2 separate regions of the Homo sapiens genome follow, and region 2 is linked to region 1. The links are contacts of gene promoters, found by promoter capture Hi-C in human tissues and cell types (Jung and others, 2019). All regions are on one chromosome and are shown on one strand. Each heading gives the region's core, a stretch centred on a gene start or on the middle of the fragment in contact. The rest is flanking DNA. Distances are from core to core; before and after follow the strand shown. Region 1 holds the start of GOLGB1 (golgin B1). Region 2 overlaps CD86 (CD86 molecule).

Evidence for each region. Contacts are between HindIII fragments. The study calls those that stand out against the background at their distance.
Region 2: a fragment that was not itself captured here is called in contact with the fragment with the promoter of GOLGB1 in region 1 in 1 of the 25 tissues and cell types used here (spleen).

What each region holds. Positions count from the first base shown.
Region 1 is chr3:121,745,300-121,751,132 of GRCh38, reverse strand. GOLGB1 (golgin B1) reads left to right here and starts at 1,392. Exons shown (of 22, transcript NM_001366282.2): 1 at 1,392-1,501. RefSeq lists enhancers at 1,425-1,664, 1,685-1,734. The HindIII fragment of the contact is 13,718 bases long and covers 1-5,833 here.
Region 2 is chr3:122,100,492-122,106,197 of GRCh38, reverse strand. It overlaps CD86 (CD86 molecule), which reads right to left. Exons shown (of 7, transcript NM_175862.5): 3 at 2,351-2,686. Among named protein-coding and RNA genes, the nearest start is that of CD86, 48 kb to the right of the region's middle. RefSeq lists a silencer at 1,837-1,906 and an enhancer at 4,949-5,138. The HindIII fragment of the contact is 5,084 bases long and covers 1-3,792 here.

The sequences.
Region 1 (5,833 bases), core at 143-2,642:
TGTACATATTTATGGGGTGTGGTAGTTTGATATATGCATACAATGTGTAATGATCAAATCAGGGTGTTTAGGATATCTATCACCTCAAACATTTATCATTTTTGTGTTTGGAACATTTCTAATCTCCTAGTTATTTTGAAATATATAACATATTGTTAACTATAGTCACCCTACTGTGCTATCAAACACTTGAACTTATTCCTTCTATCTACGTTTGTACCCATTAACCAATCTCTTCCCTCCCTCCCCCAACTCCACCTTCCCAGCCTCTGGTACTTATCTCTACTCCATGAGATCAACTTTTTAAGCTCCCACATGAGTGAGACCATGGGATATTTGTCTTTCTGTGCCAGACTTATTTCACTTAGAATAATGACCTCCAGTTCCGTAAGATGGGCAGCCAGGAAAGGCCTTACTTAGCTGATGTTTGAATTGTGAAGTTATGTAATCATTAAGATGAGTATACATACAATGGGCCAGCTGAGTGCACAGCAAGATTCAATAAATTCAAACTAACATTACTCTTATTGCCAAGAGAGTGCCTGAAATGACAGCTCATTGGAAACTGGCTACTTTCCTTCCCTTTCCTTAGGGGTTTAAGGAAAGCATGAGTGATTTCAGTCTTTTGCTGGAGCTCCTCACTGACACTCATTGCAGAGCCTGAGCCCTCAACTCTCAATCTTTGCTTAGGTCCTGGCTTAGGCTCCACTTTGTAAGAGGCACCTTCCTAGTATTCACTACTCTCTCTCTCACAATCATGTCCTTACAGACATTGCTGATCCTCTTTCATACTGACACCGGGTTCTAGTCCGAGTTCCATCACTAAGTCGCTGTTTGACTTTGGGCAAGTTACTTCTGTGGTTAATTATTTTTCATCAACAAAATCAAAAGGTGAAACTAGACGAACAACTAAGAGGCTCCAGTATTTTTTCAATCTAAGAGTCCCATATCCCCCACTCCCTTCTCACAGCTCATTCAACAATCCTAATGGCAGCGGGTGCCCGCAGTCTCAAGTCTCTGCCGAAGCCCAAGCCGCTGTCTCGGTCAGTCACAACCGACGAAGAGGAGGAATTGGAGGAAGCCAGCATAACCACTTCACACTGAGAACATCTGACCTTTCCCAGAACGCCCGCCCACTCGACACTTCCTGTCCCTCCCCAGATCTTGTTCCGGGGCACCTACTCGCGTCTAATCACTCCCCTCATTCACTCTTTAGGGTCCATTGGCTGTTTCTTTGAGGAAGCGGAGCATCTTCTGTCGTTGATTGGTTTCCGTCATTGTTGATAGGTTGGTAACAAACAAGGTGTGCCTGGTCTCCCTGGTAACGTCCTGCCGATAGTCCTGATTGGTCGGTGTCTTAATCCCATCTTCCGTCCCAACTGCTAGTGGCTGAGTCCCTGGCGGGGCGCGGCGGTGGAAGGTGTCGCGTACGGGCTTCCCGAGCTGACGTGGCTTGAATTGGGAGGGGGGCAGCTGGAGCCTCAGGCGGCAGCGCTTCTAGGTGAGTAGGGGACGCTACCCAACTCTTCCCTCTGCGAGTCCAATAACGGTCACCCCCGCCAGAGGGGCCGCGGGAGCTGCCCAAGCAGCTACACCGGAGTCCCCTCCTCGCCCCGCCTCTCCCGGATTCAGTCCTGGATCCGGCCCTTCACCCGCCTCCTTCACCTACCAGGCCTAGTTCTAGTAGCCCACAAGCCTCGGCCTCTCCGGTGGGCCTTCGGGGTCACCCTGCGCAGACTTGGACCACTTGCTCACGGTCTGTCCCCTCCCCGGTACGTTTCTCCTCTGGGAGCGACGGGGAAAAGCGCCTAGGTCAGTCCTGTCCGCACGGCCTTGTTCCTGGAGCGGCCTGCCTAAGTCGGCCTCCGTACGCAGCCGCTGACGTCGGAAAGAACCTGCTGGGCCCCTGTGCTCAGGCCCTAAACAAACTTGGTGTCCCGAAGGGGAGGCGCGACCAAAAGAAATCAAAGGTCTTTAGGGCGGAGATCACAGAATCATTGGAGATATTAATGCAAACGGAGGCCTGTCCAATAATCCTGCTAATGCTAATGGGTTACTGGAAAGATGAGAAGAGAGGAAAGATCCCAACGATCCCGTCAACACGAAAATCCCAGGAATCAGAGGTGGGCAGGCTGTTAGAGAAAAAGGAACCTCTAAGAGAGTTCTCGAGGAAAAATAACTTGGTTTGATGGTGTGGAGTATGTTTAATCTGCACAACCGGAATGTGAAAGGGAGGGTGAGTCCTTTGAGGAATGAGGAATATATTTGTCTGACTTATTTAAAGAGCTCCAGTTGGTCTATGGGGAGCGGACAGTTTGAGAGTGGGACAGGGATATTTACAATCATGGGTAAGTACTTTCACTTTTGGAGATAGTTGGAAGCTGTCTGAGCATTTAAAGGACCTTTTTACAGTTCTGTGCAAGATGCAAGCAAGTGGAGGGCTCTTTACATAAGGGCCAGAGGCCTTTCCAAAAGCGTGAATTGATAAGATTTAGATGGTCAGAATGGTTATGAAGGGGCAAACTCAGGAAATATCCTATTGGAAAAATGGCAGGATTTGGTTTTGGAATAGATGCAGGAAAAAGTTGAAGAGTACTCAAAAGTTGCAGGCATTGTACATTAACTGCTTCATAGCTTTTACTTCTCATCCCTTGACCACAGAATGACCATTTAATGTTTTTCTTTTCACTGCATCAATATTTTTTACTACCTCAGCAGCTTCCAAACCTTTTAATTGCACTCCCTATCAGTAAAACATTTTTGAGCATGCATCTCCCCAAATGTTGTGTGTTTAATTATTTATAGTGTATGACTACCACTGTAAATATGTTGTGTATAATATGAAATATGCAAAAGTATAAACGTAAAAGAATGAAGTTTTTAAAAAGCCTTGTCCACACCTTGGGACCTCCCAACCCAATTTGACAATCACGTAAAGATACTTCCTTGTTTTTCAAGAAGGTCGTTGGCATTTCTGGCATCCAGACTCTGGGATGCAGCCTTTCTTAAACATGATCTTTAGAAGATTTTTTTCAACCTTCTGCTTGAGTTTTATAGGCCCCCTTTCTTTTTCTCCCTTTGATTAATGGATTAATTAAAGGGATGTTGACTTTATCCTTGTTTATAAAATAAATCATTCATTAATTTCTCTAGGTTAATTACTATTAGGAATACCACTGATCATTACATACCAGTCTGTGGTTAGAAACCATTATGTAAAAGGAGACTAAGCTCTATATTGCTGTATTTTTAATTAAGCTATTTTAAAATCAGCTATATGCTTTTGATAAAAGGAAATTTAATACAGAAGGATACAATGTAAAAAAAGTCTTTTTCTTTTCTATCTACTGATCTACCCATCTCCATTCCCCACTTCCCAGAAGTAAGCACTGTAAATAATTTCTTGGTTATATTTAAGAAACTTTCTGATCATAATAAAGCACATGATAATATATACCCCCTTCTGTCTTTCCCACAAGTGGAATCCTAATACACATGCTTTTGCCATTTAGTACTGTATATTAGGCACTTTCAATATCCATGGGTATAAAACTACCTCATCCTTTCCATGGCTACACAGCAGTCCTTTGTAAAAATATAAAAATAGTATTTAGCCTGTCCCCATTGATGGACATTTAGATTTTCAGTCATTAGCCATCAAAACACTGCTGTAGTGTTTTGTTATATAACATCCATGTGTATATATGTATATATATACATATATATACGTATATATGTATATATATACGTATATAGACATATACGTATATATACGTATATACACATATATATACATATATACGTATATACACATATATACATATATACATATATACACATATATATACATATATACATATATACATATATATATACACACATGGATTTTTGTTTTGTTATGTAACATCCATACATAACATGTTTTGTTATGTAACATCCATATATATATATATATATATATATATATATATATATATATATAACATCCATGTATATATATCTTAGGGCCCTTGTGTGAACCTGTCTGTGGTATAAACAATATGGAATTATTTGGGGCCATACTAATATGAATCATTTTAGTTTACTTACTGCTTTAAAAAAAAGTACTTACCTAACTATTAACATAGTGCCTTTATCCCTTCATTCTGTTTTCAACCCGAGTAAAGAATATTGGATAATGAGATTATTCAGAAAATAAAATATTTTCTGTGTATCTTCACCCACCAAGAAGCTTTGTCGAACTATGTGACTGGGGAAATTACTTAACATCCCTCTGCCTTAGTTTACTCACCTTAAAACTGGGAATATTGACGGTACTCCCTCTTGCGGTTGTTTTAAGAATAAAGTGAGTTAGGCCGGGCGCAGTGGCTCATGCCTGTAATCCCAGCACTTTGGGAGGCCAAGGCGAGTGGATCACTTGGAGTCAGGAGTTTGAGACCAGCCTGGCCAACATGGTGAAACCCCTGTCTCTACTAAAAATACCAAAAATTAGCCAGTCGTGGCAGCGGGTACCAGTAATCCCAGCTACTGGGGAGGCTCAGGCAGGAGAATCGCTTGAACCCAGGAGGCAGAGATTGTAGTGAGATCGCGCCACTGCACTCCATCCTGGGCGACAATAGTGAAACTCCGTCTCAAAATAAATAACATTAAATAAATAAATAAATAAATAAATAAATAAAGTGAGTTAAATAACGAAAAGTAAGTTATGTGTAAAGATATTGGAGCAGTGTTTGGCAGGTCACGCTGTGTATGTATGTTATAGCTACCACTTACAAATTCATTTAATTAAAATAGTGGCTTCTGCATCATGAAAAATAGTTGTTCATTTTCTAATTGTAAAATTATGTCATAATATCGAATGTGTTATTTCCAGCTATACAGCACTACCCATTAGCCCCTCAACTTGGTTGAAAATCACTTTGAGATTTAAGGAATTAAGGACAGCTACTGAGGCTTAACTAAATAAGCATGAAATAAGTTTGAGGAGTCACCTCAACTGAAACCTAACCACCTTCTCTGTGTTTCTGTGGGAAAATGTGATTTAAATTCCAAAGTAGATGGCATATATGCATATATACACAGGCATGCACTCACTGTCTTCAGTTATTTTGCTTATTTTCCTGTGCATATTGTTCTGTTTTCGGTGGCTAGGGACATGCTTTATAATTCTTTTTATATTTTTATAGTTCCTAGCATAATGCTGAACACCAGGTGGTTGTTATAAGAATAATCATTGATAACAGTGAAGACTTGGAGAAAATAAAACTTACTTAATTCTGAGTGCCACTTCAACACATAAGTGTTAAGGTCCTGTGGCAGGGTTTGTGAAAGCTGTGACCAGCATAGACTGAGGAATTGTTTTATTTGCCTTAGTGTTTTATGGAATCCCTGGCCTTGGCATGAAGCTCTGTGTTTTATTCTTTTCCTTAGTTGCTATTCATTATTTTGGTGCCTTATAAAATAACAGCAAGAACATTGTCCAACAGTCATACATATTCCTTACATGAATTTATGACTATGAATATGACTATTCCCCTTTATTAATCTTTACATATATGTATACATATACATACACGTATACATATGTATATATATACATACACGTATACATATGTATATATACATACACGTGTACATATGTATATATACATACACGTGTACATATGTATATATACATACACGTGTACATATGTATATATACATACACGTGTACATATGTATATATACATACACGTGTACATATGTATATATACATACACGTGTACATATGTATATATACATACACGTGTACATATGTATATATACATACACGTGTACATATGTATATATACAT
Region 2 (5,706 bases), core at 1-2,500, 360 kb before region 1:
CTGAAAGCAGAAGAGAGATAAAAAAAAATCAATCTAAGTTTAGATGTATCTAGGAGGGAATAGCAAATAACTGGGTACTTGATCTGGGGCTCATTGGGGCACACCTGGGAGCCTCAGGGTGTCTAAAATGTGACCCTCAGCCCAAGGTGAGTGCCACATAATGACTTCATGTTTATTTTTCAACAATAGAGTTTGCAGCCATGCTTACTTCCTGCTTATCCAAATCAAAGGGGTGCTCTCTAAGTGACAGGAGGGCTGTAATTGAGTCACCAAAGATTTACAATGAAGCCACTGTTTCCAGGGAGTAGAGTCTTTGGAAGGAGAAGTGGTCTGACTCTAGGGCCCAGGTGTCCCATGGGGCACATTCCAGCTCCCCAGACTAAGAGAGCAGGAAGGAATTGAGCTGGAGTCTCACCAGGAACTGACAGAGTTCATGGTGCTGAGATGCCCTGCGTCATATCTTTCAGAAACCCAAGCAGGATTGTGGTAAGTGAGTGGGTGGATATTTTGGAATTCGAAATTCAGAACACTGATTTTTGGCATGAGCATCAAAGTGTCTTCATAACATACTCTAAGAAGAAGGCCAAATCCAGCTATTTTAGGGAAAAATACATGATCTTAATAAACACAGTGTTTCTCTTGCCTTTGCCATTCTCACTTTTCTGGCTGTTCAGGATCACTGGCATGGAGTCCCTAGACCTGTGTCATGTGCCTTCTGTCAGAAAAAATCCCTTGTTCTTTTATAGTTACTAGGTAGTTTGCAGGTTCTACAAACTAATTTATAATTTAGTGTATTCTTACTAAAAGGTCTGTCATTTGCATGTCATCTTTATAAGTTTTGCTATATCAGTGTACTATTTGAGCAGTCTTCTTGGAGTCTATGTGGCCTGTAGAAGGTGAATTGCCAGACCGTGTTTAGCTTCATTAACAAGATCTGTGAAATCACATGTTGCGTAAGTTAGAGTTTTTCTAATATACATTAAAACAAATACAACATGGCTTTTCAAAATGCTTATCTGTGTCCCACCTAAAACATTTCCAATGGTACCTGACCACATTTTGAAAACACGGATTTAGCACTTGGTTAACTATTCCTAAAGCCCTGCAGCCTAGTTTAAATCACACAGGGTTCAAAGGGAGCAGCTCTCCATTCTATTTTTACTTTTGCTTCTGTTTTACTCTATGGTTTTAGAATAGGTGTTGATCTGCCTTTTCAAGTTTCATCAAAAATTAACCTGGATCCAGTAATACCACACCTGGGTATTTCCTCTAGAGAACTGAGAACTTATGTTCACACAAAAACCTGTACATGAACGTTTACAGCAGCCTTATTCATAAGAGCCCCAAACCAGAAACAACCCAATGTCTTTTACTGAGTTGAATGGATAAACAATAAAATGCTACTCAGCAATAAAAAGGGACAAGCTCGATATGTGCAACAACTTGGGTGAATCTCGAAGGCGCGCTAAACGAAAGAAGCCAGGCTTAAAAGGTTACATACTGTGTGGCTTCACTTATGTGACACTGTCAAAAAGACAAAACTATAGGATGCCCAACAAGGGTTATGAGTGCAGACAGGGTATGACTCTATGAAGGGACAGCCTGAGGGAAATTTTTAGGGTGATAGAAATGCTCTATGTCCTGTGGCGGTTACCTAAATCTATACAAGATCTATACAATCAGTAGAACAGTATATCAAAACAAAAAAAAATAATTTTACTGTGTGATAGTTTTAAAAAAATCTGTAGTGGCATTTAGGCCTTCCAAGGTCTCGTGAAGCAGAGGAGCTGGTTTGTAAGTTTGTGGGTTATGTTTGTTGGGTTTTTTTCCCTTCTGTCTACCAGGCTCATGGTTGTGGCAGCAAACAACTCATAAGCAACCTAGAGGAGGCTGAAGGGAAAACCCAAATGTGTCAGCTGTCCGCTTTGCTAGGAGCTCCAGGCAAAGATTTAGTAGGTGAAAAATCTTGGACCCAAGGAAAAAATGAATGTAAGACATCTGAGGCCTTTATGGTTATATAAACTTTGTGATGGCCAAATTATCCATGGTTTTTACTATAGGTAATTAGCCATATTATCTTTGTTCAATTAGCTCTATTTTTTCCCCAAAGCAGATTTTTACTGATCCTTCAGAAGCAGACTATAAAAAGTACAAAAGACTTTCAGTTCCCTACTCCCAGACTCTACACTCCCTTCAAATGCACTTCCCAGAAGTGGCTGTCCTCTGCCTTCTCTCTATAGACCCCCCTTTTCCCCTGGGCCCCTCAAGTCCCCCTCCAGTGTTTTTCTAACTCATTTGCAGTCTCATCTGAGAAGGCTAAGAATCTGAACACACACCATTGACCACATACCAAGCACTGACAGTTCAGAATTCATCTGGTGGATGCGAATCATTCCTGTGGGCTTTTTGTGATGGATGATACATTGATACAAGCCCTTGTCCTTGATCTGAAGATTGTGAAGTCTCAGGGTCCAACTGTCCGAATCAAAACTTGTGCGGCCCATATACTTGGAATGAACACTGTCAAATTTCTCTTTGCCTAAGTATACCTCATTCAGAACCAAGTTTTCCTGGTCCTGCCAAAATACTACTAGCTCACTCAGGCTTTGGTTTTGAGAGTTTGCAAATTGGCATGGCAGGTCTGCAGTCTCATTGAAATAAGCTTGAATCTTCAGAGGAGCAGCACCTAAAAAAGAAGGTTAAGGATTAGGGAGGGAGAAACAAGAGGAAAGGGGAAAAAACCTCCATTTCTCTTTATACAATACCCAGATACTATCTTATCAGTAATCATGCTGAAGAATAAGATATTAAGCTCTGGAACTGTGCACATCTGCTTGGCATCTGGAGATTAGGACCTTTGTCCTTGCTTCACCGCTGACTAAATGTGTGGCCTTGTACAAACTGCAATCTTTATGAGCCTCAGTTTCCTCATCTGATTAATGAAGTGGTTGACTAAATGTTCCAAGGGTCTTTCTAGTACTGTGGTTCTGTGAATTTAAATTGCAAGACAGGGAAAAACCAGTAGAGTTAGACAACCCATTCACCCACCAGTTACCTTCCTATAACCTTAATTTTAGTTTTCATCACTGTAGCTGTTACAGGTTCCATAACTTCTACACCATCACCAAAAGCTTTCCCCTCCCCTCCCATCCACATATTCCTTGGTCTGCTATGGTGAAAAGATTGCTGATAATGGTAATAAATTATAGCCCCCCTTTATTATACTTCATTAGTTGGGGAATCACGTTGAGTAACATCTTTGAAATTCAAATAGCTCCCTTTACAGAACTTCCCCTATGACTGCTGCTCCCATGGCCAGCACTTCCAAGGATGTCAAATGCTTTAGAAATGACTTCGATAGTGAACCAAGGCCTTTATTTTCAGTGACCTCTCTAAGCTCTTTCAGAGATCAGAAAGAGAACTGGGCAAATTTGATGGCTGTTTTCGGATTGTGGTGGTCAATGACCATTTAAGGCACATGAGTGAAATGCTGAAAATGAATCATAGATGGGCAGGTGAGGATGTGCTTTGGGAGTATTGGGGAAACCCCAGGCACCACAAACTTGCTGCTCCCAGTATGCACTGACCCTGGACAATTTTACAACCATAGACATCATGCTGGAAGGGTTGAGAGAAAGGCTTTAGTCCTTGAGGACACTTTGGGGTTTGTGGGAAGGATGTGGGCCACCCAACTACTTAAATGTGAATGATCACGGGGTTTGTGTAGGACCTTTTCTAGGTTACAGAATTACTTGAGACTTGGCAAAAAAAAAAAAAAAAAAAAAAAAAAAGTAAGCAGTGGTGGGTGAGAAGTGCGGGGGTGGAGAGTGGGAAGGCTGTTTCTTACTTAATATGAAGTTAGATGCCACCTTGGAGAGGAAGTTAGTGTAAGTTCTAAATAAAATTTCATCATTCAGGATTTATGTGAAGGCATGTTGACATTGAGGAGGAAAGGGAGGAGATGGGTTGATGAGAGAGATGAGAGGAGCTTCATTTGAAGAGTTCTAAGTGGGGGAGTAATTAAATTGATGTGGTTTCTCTTGAAAGAGGGAATAGAAGGACAGATAACAGTGACATGCACTTGTCAAACTAAACTGTGTACAGAGTGGCCCAGTGAGAACACATAATCAAGGGGTTGGTGGTGGTCTTGAACTCTTAGGGAAGCAGACAGCAGGCATCAGTGGGAGTTTGCACAAATATGAATCACTGCCTATTTCACTACACTCACTAGGACCCTGTGAAGTACTTGAGGTATAAAATGCACCACCTGTAGAGGATGCGTACCGGTATTGGAGGGAGGAAGGAAAATCTATATGCGTACCCTGACAGTGAAAGGGAGACCTAAGGAAGATTTAGTGTGTTTATGAATCACCTTACAAGGCAAACCTGAGGCTTCTGCATCTTCTTTGCTGAGCTCTTAATGTAATGCAAGAGTGCCCCCTACTGTAAAAGCTTCTAGCATTGTCTCTGAGGAAATACTGGTTTTAGTCTAAATTGTCATGTAATATAGGACAGATGACCTGATGGAGAAACCAAACACACAGTTAAAAATTCTGCCAATTAACAGTCAATGTTATGTTATTACTCAGCTGTCAGTTGTGCCTTCTGGACCTGGAAATGACTTCGTCTTTAGCTGCTTCTGTCTTCTTGATTTACATATATATATATATATATATATATATATTTTTTTTTTTTTTTTTTTCTGTAGAGCCTCACAGTATCTTCTTTCCTTCCCATCCATTCTGTCCACTCACAGACCAGTCTAACTCCGCTGACCCAGGCCCCTTCTCCCAAAGATTACAACGGCTTTCTCTTCCACTCATCGAGTGCTCCCTTCTTCACCTAGCAACTGAAAGTGTGATGTATGGACCAATGAGATTCACGTCACATGTGGGCTGGTCTGAAACACGGAATCTCTGGCCCCACCCAAGACTTACTGATTCAGAACCTCCATTTTAACAAGAGCTATAGTTTGAGCAGCTGTTGTAGAGAATCTCTGCCTCTGTCTCCAGAGTGGATCACAGAAAATGACATGAAAATTTTTTTTCCATCCATCCCTCCTCAGACTCCCTCTCCTCCCCATGGGGTGGAAATCACTTTGAAATCCATTCTGAGTGGAACTGAAAGTATTTTGCAATTTATACTCCATAGCACCTCACCAACCACTGGCTTCCATGATCTCACACAGAGCCAGGCATGGGGGATGCTGCTAATCCTTTCTCTGACTAAATGGGGAAAGTTTGGCTCAAGGTCTGTGATCACCAAATGACTTCAGGCCTTCCATTTTATGACCCCAGACCTCAAGCCACCTAGCAACTGGACTTACTGGGATTCCATAGGTGGGTAAGCATTGAGAATCTCTCCCTTCCCCAGCACTTGGGTAAGAGGAATGGTCGAAGTCTAGTTACAATGGGTTGCTATGATGTCAGGAACAAGTCGCTCAAGAATCCAGCTAGATGCCTTCGTAATCAGCTGAAGGAATTTGTTTCAAAGGATAATTAAGGACTTCCTGAGCAATACACTCTACTGTTGGAATGCCACTCAAAAACTGTAATTTGCTAGCCTTATGAAGTCTCTGACCCCACTGGGACTTCAGTGTTCCCTGGCTGCTATCCCCAAATGCATATCTTATATGTTTAAGAATTATCTCTTCTTTATGTTCCTATGCTTATCTGTACTAAAAAAAATTCCTTCTTTTACTAAACT